3 separate regions of the Homo sapiens genome follow, and all the other regions are linked to region 2. Evidence: promoter capture Hi-C in 16 types of primary human blood cells and fetal thymus (Javierre and others, 2016). All regions are on one chromosome and are shown on one strand. The core of a region is centred on a gene start or on the middle of the fragment in contact, and the rest is flanking DNA. Distances in the headings are between cores, read along the strand shown. Region 1 overlaps CARMAL (coronary artery disease region linked MFGE8 regulatory lncRNA). Region 2 holds the start of FANCI (FA complementation group I). Region 3 holds the start of CARMAL (coronary artery disease region linked MFGE8 regulatory lncRNA).

Region 1 (3,972 bases), core at 595-3,094, 190 kb after region 2:
GATTCCTCTGCGATGGCAGCCTGCCCTCCTACCTAATTTCTGGGGATCAATTACTGCCCTCGAACCCACCATCTCTGGAATGGCACCTGCGACTGCTGTGCCATTCTGTATATTATGGGGTAGCCGGTCGTACTTCTCAAGCCCATCCCTATGAGAGAGTTAAATTCTCCAATTCATGGTTCAAGAGGTTTTTTTCCCCTTTCATTTCATCCATACCACTGTCTGCCCAACATTGTGACAAGAAATTCAGGGCTGCCTTCCCAAGTTATGAGTTGTGACCAATGATCAACCTAACGAATTTTGATCAGATCTGTGGGTCAGAAAATTGGAACAGGAAGTAATCTGTAGGCGTCTCCCAGGGACAAATAAATAGCCAGTTTGGATTTCCTCCAGGTCTGGTCTAGGCAGGTAGGTGGTCAGAACCATGCCAGCTTGTCTAGCCACAGCGAACATTTTGTGAGGATGTGAGTGGGTGTCAAGTGGCTCGCCTGGGTGGGCAGATGTACCCCTCTTCCTGGATCCCCTGGCATATGGGCATTGGTGAGACTGCAGAGCTGTGACCAGGTACAGCAGAGAAGAGAGCCCCAAACATGGAAGAGGGCATGATGGGAGATGCTGGAGAGGAGAGAAAATTTCCATTTGGCTTTTTGAGCTTCTTGTCAGGTCCTCAGAGCACAGCAACTTGGCAGCTCTCTGCGTGCCCCATTCCTAGTCTTCCTTCATGAATTTTTCATTTCAGGCAAAGAGCCCTTATCTTTCGCTGGAGCTGCTTTCCCATCAGCTGGTGACTAGGCAGATGAAGGTTGCATTAAGGCAGGAATTATCCATCCCTTGAGAGAGAAATGGCACTCTGTGCCCTTGAAAGGATGGCTTCTGCGCCACCACCCATTACTGCAGGCTTCTGTCCAACGTTGGATTGCTGTTTTTATTGAGATATTGTTGAGGGCTGAAAGAGAAAGGCTTCAAGGGCAGATACTATGGTCTTGTCTGAAGAGTGAGGTCTTTCCTGCTGCCAATCATTGGACATGAGGGGGCTCCACAGCAGGAAAGAGGAATTAAGAAGGGACTTGGCCTGTCACAACCCAGATTTCCAGGAGTCTCGATGTCCAGGGGCACTCCTGAGGGATGGAGGGAGTTAAGGATGTCATCTCTCCTTGTCCCCATCCCCTGGGCCCAGAGCAGGAGAAGCTCCTGCTGTGCACCTCCTCGGGCCATGTTCCTTTCTACAAAGGGAGTCCATACACCCACCCAAGACTAGGCTCCGTGTACCAGGACCCCAGAGTTTCTGTCCAAATTACAGCAAGCCCTCTTCTGTGCCTGCGGGGCATCTTCATTTTCTCTAGGTCTCTCTTCCCAAGAGTGGACCTCACTACCTGTGTTCACATGCTAGGTACTAGGAGTGGCCAAGGGGTAGCTGTTTTCAGGGTTGTAAGGGGTGTGGGTGTGGAGGAAGCTTGGATGTGTGAGCTGGAGTATCCACACGTATGTGAGGCTCCTCACGATCTGAAAGGATGAGCGTGGGTGGGTGGACCTGGGGCCAGAAGTGGAGAGCCAGGGGAATGGATCTCCAAGGAGGCTGAAAATCCTAAAAGTCAACCTGGTCTTTTAGGTGGTTATGAAGGTATCTACCTCAAGGCGGAAGGATGGAGCATACTTCATTTAAGGGTTTATCAGCTTGACTGAACAACTTGAAAATATGCAGACATAGAGTATGTGAGCTTCCATTCGTTCTCTTGCCTGGCGCCCCACAAATGTTGGTGGGCTTAATTTGTAAGTGGGGAGCTAGGGAGTCCTAGTCCTGGGGTCCCTGATGGACTGGGTAGAGGGCGAAGAGCTGCAGGAAAGAAGTCAGACCTGGCAAACTAAAGTTTTGACTCACGGTGTCCCCTGAATCTATCTTCGTTTTCTTAGTCCTCAGCTTTTAGGACAGTGTGATTGGAAAGTTCTGGCAGGTTTGTTTCTTTCTTTTTTTTTTTTCATTCCTTCTTATTAATAGCGGGTTTCACTGGGAAGCCGCATGGTGGCAATAGATGGCCCCAGTTGGAGAGGGAGCAGCGCCACCCTGAGGCCATGGAGGGAATGGCAGCAGGAATGGGGGTGAGCCCAACGGGGCCTGCCTCTCAGGAGCCCATGCACCAGGCACGCCCCCACCGTGATTCCACGACCATGGCTAAACAAGAAGGGGCTGTATTCTTACCCTCTTACCAAAAATAGCATTTTCACCATTGAAGCTTCCCAAAGAACTCTCAGCTGTTTGCTAACCATGAAAATCAATCCTTGGAGTTCCAGAGGCGGCCAGTCCCCAACTTCCCAGTGGTCACTGTGTAACCCCTGCCCTACCTCATCTTCAGAAACCCCATCATCACTGCGCCAAACCCCAAAGGGAAGTGGAGATGAAGGAAGGGAATTAGCTATGAGCAGCTTAGAAGAGCTAACCCGGGGGTGGCTTCTCAAGCAGAACTCACATGCTTACAAAGGGGCTTCAATAGATCCTTTACCCTTTTCACTTAACACTTTTAAAAATGGTATCACGCTGGCCTAGCGCAGTGGCTCATGCTTGTAATCCCAGCACTTTGGGAGGCTGACGCAGGCGGATCACCTGAGGTCAGGAGTTCAAGACCAGCCTGCTAACACGGTGAAACCCCATTTCTACTAAAAATACAAAAAATTAGCCGGGCGTGGTGGCGTGTGCCTGTAATCCCAGCTACTCAGGAGGCTGAGGCAGGAGAATCGCTTGAACCCGGGAGGCGGAGATTGCAGTGAGCCGAGATGGCGCCATTGCACTCCAGCTTGGGCAACAAGCGCAAAACTCCATCTCAAAAAAAAAAAAAAAAAAAAAAGGTATCACTTATAAACTGGATTAACAGTGTGAAAAAAATTTAATGCCTACTGACTATATTTCCTGACTGCCTGCACACAAACTCTGACAGGTAGAGATTGCTATTGTCCCATTTTACAGACAAGAAAACTGAGGCCCAGTGAGGTGAATGACTCACTCAAGGTCATGTTGTAATAAGTAGTGCTGCTGGGTCTGATTTTTTTCATTGCACTGTTCTATCTTTTGCAAGCACCCTGAAGGAATTTTATTTTTTTATTTTATTTTTTTGAGATGGAGTCTTGCTCTGTCGCCCAGGCTGGAGTGCAGTGGTGCGAACTCGGCTCACTGCAAATTCCACCTCCCGGGTTCACGTCATTCTCCTGCCTCAGCCTCCTGAGTAGCTGGGACCACAGGCACCTGCCACCATGCCTGGCTAATTTTTTTGTATTTTTAGTAGAGACGGGGTTTCACCGTGTTAGCCAGGATGGTCTCGATCTGTGCCCGGTGCCTGAAGGAATTAAAGATTCAAATTCCTGCCACAATCCTGCACTGGGGCATGGTGTTCTTTCTTACTGTGTCATTCAAGTTGCAAAATCCATACATATTCTTGTAACTAAGCAAATATCTCCAATGCCATCTCCTGAGGTGAGCAATATTAACAGTTTTGTGAGTTTTTTTCCTATTATTTTCCCTAGGAAGATACGAATAGTTACAAATTAAAAATTCGTAGAGGGATTCCCACCTCCATTTACAAAATTTTAATTAAAAGCAAAAATCAGGCTAGGCGTGGCAGCTCACATCTGTAATCCCAGCACTTTGGGAGTCTGTGGTCAGAGGATTGCTTGAGGCCAGGAGTTTGAGACCAGCCTGTGCAACATAGGCAGACTCTGTCTCTACAAAATATTTTTAAAAATTAGCTGGGCATGGTGACTCCAGCTACTCAGGAGGCTGAGGCAGGAGGATTGTGTGAGCCCGGGAGGTCAAGACTGCAGTGAGCCGTGATCACGCCACTGCACTCCAGCCTGGATGACAGAGTGAGACCCAGTCTGTAAAAACAAAAAAGCAAAAATCACATTACACAATTAGTTTGTAAACTACATTTTCCCTTAGCCACATATCATGATCATTTTGACAAGTAATATTGATTCATCTCA
Region 2 (4,167 bases), core at 927-3,426:
GAAAGAAAATCTGTTCCTCCTCTTCTTCCTCCTGTGTTTCCCGTCTCCATAAATGGTACCATCATCCACTCAGCTGCTCAGACCAGAAACCTAGGTAACATTCTTAACAACTTTGCCTTCATCCTTCACCACATCCATTACCAAGTCCTGTCAATGTTACCTACTAAATATCTCCCAAATCTGTCTACTTTTCTCCATCTCCACTACTGACACATTACCCCAAGCCACCACCATCTCTCACCTGAACTACTGCAATCGTTTCCTAACTTGTTCCCTTCTACGCAGCAACTAAAGTGATGTTTTTGAAACACAAACCTGATTATGTGACTTATCTTCCCTCCATGCCATCCTCATCTTAAAGCTCTTCAGTGGCTTCCATTGCTTTATCAGTCCAAAACCCTTAAGTAAGGATAAAATAAGTCCTGCAAGTTCTGACCCATGCCTACCTCCCTTTCATCACTCTGCTCCAGCCATGCAGAATTGCTTCCAGTCCTTCAAATCTCCAAGTTCTTTCTGCCACAGGCCCTTCCACATGTTTCCATCTGGAACTTAAATAAATATTCCTGCTTCCATCCACTGCCCCCCAATCTTTTATTACTAATTCCTACAAATCCTTCAGATCTTAGCTCAATCCACATCTCCTCAAAAGCTCAGTCTAGGCCAGGCGCAGTAGCTCACGCCTGTAATCTCAGCACTTTGGGAGGCCAAGGCGGGCGGATCACTAGGTCAAGACATCCAGACCTTCCTGGCCAAGATGGTGAAACCCCGTCTCTACTAAAAATACAAAAAAAAAAAAAAAAAAAAAAAAAAAAAAAAAAAATAGCTGGGCGTGACGGCACGCACCTGTAGTCCCAGCTACTTGTGAGGCTGAGGCAGGAGAATCACTTGAACTCAGGAGGCGGAGGTTGCAGTGAGCCGAGATCGCGCCACTGCACTCCAGCCTGGCAACAGAGGGAGACTCTGTCTCAAAAAAAAAAGAAAAGAAAAGAAAAGAAAAGCTCAGTATAGGTTGTTAAACGTTCCCCTAGTACATCCTCTCATGGCACCAGTAAACTCTCTTACATACTGTCACCAATTTTTAATATTACATGTGTAATTATCAGATTAACAAATGTTATCTCCCACTAGACTATAAGTCCCCTAAGGACACGGGCCGTAGCTGGTTTTGTTTATCATTGTATCTCCAGCACTTAGCACAGTACCTAGCTCAAACTAGGTAACAAATGTTTGTTGAACAAATTATTGAACCCCTATAATAGGGAAAACACTGAACCCAGCACTTTACATTCATTAACATGACTCCCACAACACCACCTACTAGGTAGGTGTAATATTAGCCCCATTTTAGATGAACAACTTTTGGGATTCAGAGATTAGGGAATTTCCCCCAAGATTAGAAGGCTACCAAGTGGCAGAGAGAGAAGTGAAACCCGAGTCTGTCCAGCTCCGGACTCCAAGATCCCATGCTTTGAACTACCGGATGCAAACAGGACACACCAACCTAAAAAGGTGTCCAGCCAGAAGGGGCAGGCGGCTTCGGAGGGGGATACGTTTAAATCAACCTAGGCACATTTGCTAAAATCATCCTAAAACCAGAGGTAAGACCAGAGGCGGGTGGCTGTGAATTCCCTGAACGCGAAGTAGATTCCTTGCCAAGAGACGCTGGGGAGCATCAGAGATCTGAAGCCAAGATCCGAGAATGGCAGAGCCCCGCCGGCGGGAAACGCCGCGGCCTTCCCTTCCGGGTTCTTCAGTTAACAAGCCGTGAGCGCAAATACAAAAACTATAACACGAAGCAGCTGGTGATGGAGACCGCGACCGGACAACAAATGCAAAGCAAGGTTAAGGGAAATTTCTCAGAAGTAAGAGCTCACCCTCGGCCAAGGGGGAAGAATTTAACAGAAGGGGCTCCGACTGAGGCACACCCCTAGGAGGGAACCGCGAAAGCTGAGGCAGGCGGCGGGAGACAGCGGAGCGCGCCTACTTTCCACGCCAGAGAAAATACCAGAACGCCAAGTCAGGACAGGAGCCTCCTTTCCCCCACAGAACCGCTCCCTCCCAGGGGCCCAGTCCCACAGCCCGAGCACCTCGCGAGCCGCTCTGCAGTCACCTCGGCCTCACCTCCGCCACAAACTTCCAAAAAGCCCGCTCAACCCAACGCCGCCACACTTCCGTTACCCGTAACAACAAGATCCGCCCCCGCGGCTCACTTCCGCCGTCCGGGTACCTGCGGGCGGGGTGTACCATGAAGACTGAAGGGGTGCCGGGAAGCGTGCGGGAGCGTCCCAGCTCACAGTCGGAGGGGGGCGCTGCCTGTCCGAACTCGCGCTAGGGACCGCCGATGAGCACGCGCGGTGGGACCTGAGCGTGCCCAGCGCGGTGTCCCGACAGGTTCAGCTTCCCTCCTGTCCTGTTGAGGGAGTAGTCAGTGCGGGAGGGGACTCACAATTGGTGGCCCCGCAGGTCTTGGCACTGGAAAAGCCTGGAAGGCAGAGGCGGATTTCATACTCCACCTTGTGCCAAGGGACGGTAACCCCTCAGATGTAAGCCCCCTGTGGCTAGGGGTCTTAATGGACTTTTGGGAGTTGTGGTTTTTGTTTGTTCTCTGTTTTGTTTTGTTTTGCGCTCCCCTTGCGTAACCCCAGCGTTTATTGCATAGCCTGGCAAAAGCAGCGAATATTTGTTAAATGAACAACTGACAGTGGGGCGAAGACCGACAGAGGGTGGGCCGAGATTCTATTTTGGGTTGAGGGAGCACCTTGCGCAAAGGGTCTGAGAGCAACGAGCAAGCAACAGAGCCCCTGGCCAGTTCAGAAGGCGAAGGTGCTCGGTGGGAGTGGGAAGGCAGGGGTTTCTAACTCCTTTTCATATTGGGGGCAGTGGGGAACCGCTGAAGGGGAAGGACATGACTGTGTTCGCATTGTAGACTGCTGTCTCGGGCAGGTGAGGACCGCAGAAACTGTTGAAAAGAGATGAGCCAGGTGGGGCGGACCGAAGGCAGGACCCCCCTTAGAAGACTGTAAGTTGTCCCAAAGATAGGTGGTGGTGGCCCAACCTTGGCAATGGGGACAGAAAGGAGTGGACCGCATGTGAAAGAGATTAGGAGGTAGAGATTTAGGAAGCCCAAATATCCGGATTTGAGGGGGTGTGGGCGTTGTTGAGGAATGTTCAGGCTTGAGCGACTGGGGTTGGGGGGCGGGGAGTTAATCCTGCAGTTGACTAACACAGGGAGCACAGGAAAAGGATGATGGGGTGATGATGAGCCCTTCAGAGTTGGACGCACCAAATTTGAGGTGCCTGTGGGATGGCAAGTGAAGGAATGCTAAGATCAGGGAGCATTTCAGTCTGGAACCTGACTCGACTCCCAGCCCTCGGGGGTAGAACGGGTCTACATGGCCAGTTATTGAAGAAACAGAGCTATTGGAGGAGAATGGTTCCTCTCAGCTGTCTAGACCTGCTCCTTGCTTGTGACCCTTCAGCATTTTTTTCCTTCTACATTTCTGTCCCAATACTGAGCTGTGATGTTTAACTAAAACACGGCAGCTTGAGGTAGAAGATGATTCCTGAAAGGAATCCTTTACCTTGCCAAGGAAGTAGATGACTTTGCCTCATCTCCCCACAAAATCTCCCAGGCTGCTTCTGGGATTCAGCCATGAATCTGTGGGTCTGGGTAGCTAGAACAAGCTCATTAGCCTCTCCGAGCCTCCACTGGCGCATCCCAGACGTACTTACTGAATTGCCTGTGTGTCTACCCACTGGCATTGATGCCTCAGGGTTCTTGTCTCCTCTTGTTGCACGAATGCATCATCTGTGTTTTCCATTTGCATTAATAAGTGTTACATATGCAAAAGAAGAGAAGAACAGATTCATTCAGATTAACAACAACGGTTTTTCACCCTGGTGCAGGCTTCCTTAACTAAGGAGCAAATCTTATCCGTCTGGTTCACTGACTAGACACTATACACTGAGAAGCTAGTGATACACTGATTCTAGAAAATACATCCAGTTAAAAACAGGTTTACAGTAATGGAACTAAATGTTCTTCAGACCTTGTCAATAGTACTTGTTTATCTTAACAACATTATAGCTACTAATATTTACAGGAGTCCAGAGAAAAAGTACAAATGGAAGCCCCTTACCATTCCCAACTCAGTCCTACAGTGTGAG
Region 3 (3,927 bases), core at 941-3,440, 200 kb after region 2:
AAGATGGACGCCCCTCCCAACCAAACACCCGGGTGACCTCTGGTTCCGACCCCCTCCAGGCCCTCCTGCCCTGATGTTTGACCTCAGCTATGCCTCTGATTCCAGGTAGGGGAAGATGCTTATGCCCTTCCAGGTCTCAGGTTGCTTATTCTGTGACCATCTGACCCCTAGCAATGCTGTCTCAGCCCCTCCAGGCCAGGTCTGGGTGCCGTGGGCCCTGCTGATGAGGTGGTGTGTCATGCCTGGTCAGCAGGGCAGACCGAGGGGCAGAGCTGCTTTCCCCAGCAGGGGAATAGAGTTGCGCCTTGCCTCAACTCTGCCTCTCACTGGCCTCAGTTTTCTTCTTAGTGGACTCCTAGGACATCTACCCAGATGCCCGGACAGAGGCACAGGCTTGGCTCAGGTCTTCCAGCCAATGAATAGCCAAGGCCGGATTCACACTAGGACAGTCTGGCTTTTAACTGCTGCACTAAGAGTCACTGCAGTAGATCCAGACATCAAGGAAGGTTCCCAGAGTCCTGGTGCCTCTGTGCCCTTAGGCGGGTGAATACTGATGGGTGGAGACAGAATTGTTACAAATATATAATAAATAAGTTATAGTAAAGCAGAATTCAATCCGAAACTCAGAAGAAAAGCAGTCCCCTCCATTCTATTGCAAACCACCTCTAAACTTCGTGGCTTAAAACCACAAAACTCACATTTGCTCATGATTCTGCAACGTGGGCAGAGCTCGGCAGCGGCAGTTCATCTCTGTTCCACATGGCATCAGCTGAGGCTGCTCCACCGAGGCTGCAGGATCCAGTTCCAGAATGGCACACTCACGTCACTGGAAGTTGATGCTGGCTGGCAGCCAGGGCCTCCTCTTGGCCTCCTTACACAGTTAAGTTAAACTTCTGCAGCACAATAGTTGGGTTCCAAGTGGGAGCATCCCAGGAGGAAGCATCCCAGGCCAGGGGTAGGCACTTTTCAAGCCTCTGCTGGCATCTTCTTGCTAGAGCCCTATTGGCCAAAGCTTGTCAGCTGACCAAGCCCAGAGTCAGTGTGGGAGGAGACTACACACAGTGGTGAATACTGGGAGCTGTGGTTTACCGAAGTGTCTGTCTGTCTGAACTTCTTTTTCCTAAGGCTCGCTTTGGTGCTCCTCACATTCTCCCATCAGCCTCCTCTGAAACCTGGTTCCATCCAGTATCCTCTCTCTCACCTCGTCCATTGCTCCTTCTTCAACGAATCCCTCCTTTCAGCCAACAGACCCACTCAAGCCACAGCTATCCCCGAACAGCTCCGTTCAGCCCTGCGTCTCCCTCAGGGTGCCGTCCTGTCTCCCTCCATTCCTTTGCTTCCAAAACCCTTCAAATAGCTGCTGAATGCTGGAAGCAGAAAAAGTTCCCTAAAGCCAATTTGCTACATTTATGAAATATTCTAGGCTGGGCACTGTGTCTCACGCCTGTAATCCCAACACTTTGGGAGGCCAAGGCGGGCGGATCACAAGGTCAAGAGATCAAGACCACCCTGACCAACATGGTGAAACCCCGCCTCTCCTAAAAATACAAAAATTATCTGGGTGTGGTGGCACGCACCTGTAGTCCCAGCTTCTTGGGAGGCTGAGGCAGGAGAATCGCTTGAATCCAGGAGGCAGAGGTTGTAGTGAGCCAAGATCGTGCCACTGCACTCCAGCCCGGCAACAGAGCCAGACTCTGCCTCAAAAAAAAAAAAAAAAAAAAAGTGAAATATTCTGATTTGTCCATTCTAAAGAATTTTTTCTTTAATGTTTTCAATGAATACGAATATATACTGTTAATGAATGCATTAGTAAATATATTCAAGAATATACTCTTATGAATATAAATAAAAATCTATTGATAAGAAGTCTAAACTACTCGATGACTCTTAGGTTCCAGCAAGCCCATAGTCTGTGAATAGATTCACAAGTGGAATATATTCATATTCACTGAGAAAAACTTTCTTCAAAATTTTTGACAAATTTGCCAAAATTGGCACACATCTCTTAATTAAAAAATTTCATCCCTCCTTTCTTCCATCCATTCATCCATCCAACGGATATTTATTTGAATGCCATGACATGCTCAGCACTGGGGCATAGTGTGGTTGAACACAGACCCAGCCCCGGCCCTCATAGAGTTTACAGTCTAGTAGGGGAGACAGTTACTCATTAAGTGATCATTTCAAACAAACCCTGAAACTGGCCGGGTGCCATGACTCATGCCTGTAATCCCAGCACTTTTGGAGGCCAAGATGAGAGGATCACTTGAGGTCAGGAGTTCGAGACCAGCCTGGCCAACACGGTGAAACCCCGTCTCTACTAAAAATACAAAAATCAGCTGGGTGTGGTGGCGGGTGCCTGTAATCCCAGCTACTCCGGAGGCTGAGGCAGGAAAACTGCTTGAACCCAGGAGGTGGAAGTTGCAGCGAGCTGAGATCGCGCCACTGCACTCCAGCCTGGGTGACAGAGTGAGACTCTGTCTCAATTAAAAAAAAAAAAAGAACACTGAAATTGCAATCTTGACCAGTGCTACCATACCTTTTCCAGCTCATGACACGCCCTTTGGCACGCACTGCTTTGGAATTTTGATCATACTGCTCCCTTTGCTGGCAATGCTCTTTCCCGCTTTCCCTGCTTGGCATATGCAGCTTAATTTTAAGACCCCAGTCAACAGCGCTCACTGTGGCTCTGGCTCCTATCCCCAGGAAAGATGAACTGCTCCATTATTTATGTTCTAGCAGCACTTGGCATAAACTTCTAGCAGTGAACATATCAAACCATAATATATTATATCTGTGTCTCTTCTATTAGATCGTAAGTGCAATAGGGTCAAGAATTCTGTCTTCAGAGGCTTGGGTGGAGTGAGTGTGCATGTTTAAAAAGAGAGAAGTTTACAAAAATGTTTAAAAAGAAAGAAGTCGGGGGGTGGGGGGCGGGTGGGCAGGCGCAGTGGCTCACGCCTGTAATCCCAGCACTTTGGGAGGCAGAGGGGGCCAGATAGCTTGAGCTGAGTTTAAGACCAGCCTGGGCAACATGGTGAAATCCCATCTCTACAAAAACATACAAAAAAAAAAAAAAAAAATTAGCTGGCTGTGATGGCAAGCACCTGTAGTCCCAGCTACTCAGGAAGCAAAGGTGGGAGGATTGCTTGAGCCTGGGAGGTCGAGGCTGCAGTGAGCTGTGATCGCCCTTTGCACTCCAGCCTGGGAGACAGAGTGAGACCCTGCCTCAGAAAAAAAGGTATCCTTACCTGACATGGAAAAATTCCTCTGGGCACCCATTAGGGGACAGACACCTCCATTTACACTCATCCTTTTAAAGCCTCTTATAATTTGACCCACAATATAGACATCAAAAATAAGCTTGAGGGAGGCCCAGCAGCCATGGTGGCAGACAGGGCTGGCAGGTAAGGCTCTGGTGGCCACTGACTTGAGGGAGAGCAGCCTGCTGACCTCAGCCAGGGCTGCAGCAGTGGGGCCAGTGCCAGACAAGGTGCTCCAAGGGGCTAGGACCAAGTGCAGTCATCTTTGCCTCTCTGGCATCTAGCAGCATTGACTAGATGCTCACACACTCGAGAAATACGTGTTAAGTGAACGGTCCCTGTGACAATCAAGCAGACTTTTTTCTTTCCGATGACACACCTCCTCTGGCCGCCACTGTCACCCTGCAGAGCAGAATCACTCTTCTGCGGGGAAGCTGGAAGGGAAACAGGCCAGGACAGCCTGGGTGAAGCAGGACTGTGTTTTGATGAGCTGAGCAAGCCTGGGTGCGGGACCCTGAGGTTACGTAGCAGACCAGGGACCCCAAGGAAGACTGCATGGATTTTGTGGGCAAAATCAGTCCATTTCAGAAATAGTTGGTGGTTTAATTGAGCCTGTGGACCAACTTGCAAAAGCAGCAGAAAATGAGAAGAGGAAGGTAGTTGG

What was found. Contacts are between HindIII fragments. The CHiCAGO score rates a contact against its expected background, and 5 or more counts as called.
Region 1: a fragment that was not itself captured here is called in contact with the fragment with the promoter of FANCI in region 2 in 5 of 17 cell types (erythroblasts, neutrophils, megakaryocytes and 2 more); the score reaches 7.0 in erythroblasts.
Region 3: a fragment that was not itself captured here is called in contact with the fragment with the promoter of FANCI in region 2 in 1 of 17 cell types (neutrophils); the score reaches 5.5 in neutrophils.

The regions. Positions count from the first base shown.
Region 1 is chr15:89,055,777-89,059,748 of GRCh38, reverse strand. All of the region lies in intron 1 of CARMAL (coronary artery disease region linked MFGE8 regulatory lncRNA), which reads right to left. It also overlaps a transcript of ABHD2 not described here. Among named protein-coding and RNA genes, the nearest start is that of CARMAL, 17 kb to the right of the region's middle. RefSeq lists an enhancer at 1-414. The HindIII fragment of the contact is 778 bases long and covers 1,456-2,233 here.
Region 2 is chr15:89,241,988-89,246,154 of GRCh38, reverse strand. It overlaps FANCI (FA complementation group I), which reads right to left and starts at 2,176. Exons shown (of 38, transcript NM_001113378.2): 1 at 2,122-2,176. RefSeq lists an enhancer at 1,594-1,973. The HindIII fragment of the contact is 10,185 bases long and covers 1-4,167 here.
Region 3 is chr15:89,038,072-89,041,998 of GRCh38, reverse strand. It overlaps CARMAL (coronary artery disease region linked MFGE8 regulatory lncRNA), which reads right to left and starts at 1,001. Exons shown (of 4, transcript NR_183882.1): 1 at 699-1,001. It also overlaps a transcript of ABHD2 not described here. The HindIII fragment of the contact is 2,351 bases long and covers 1,015-3,365 here.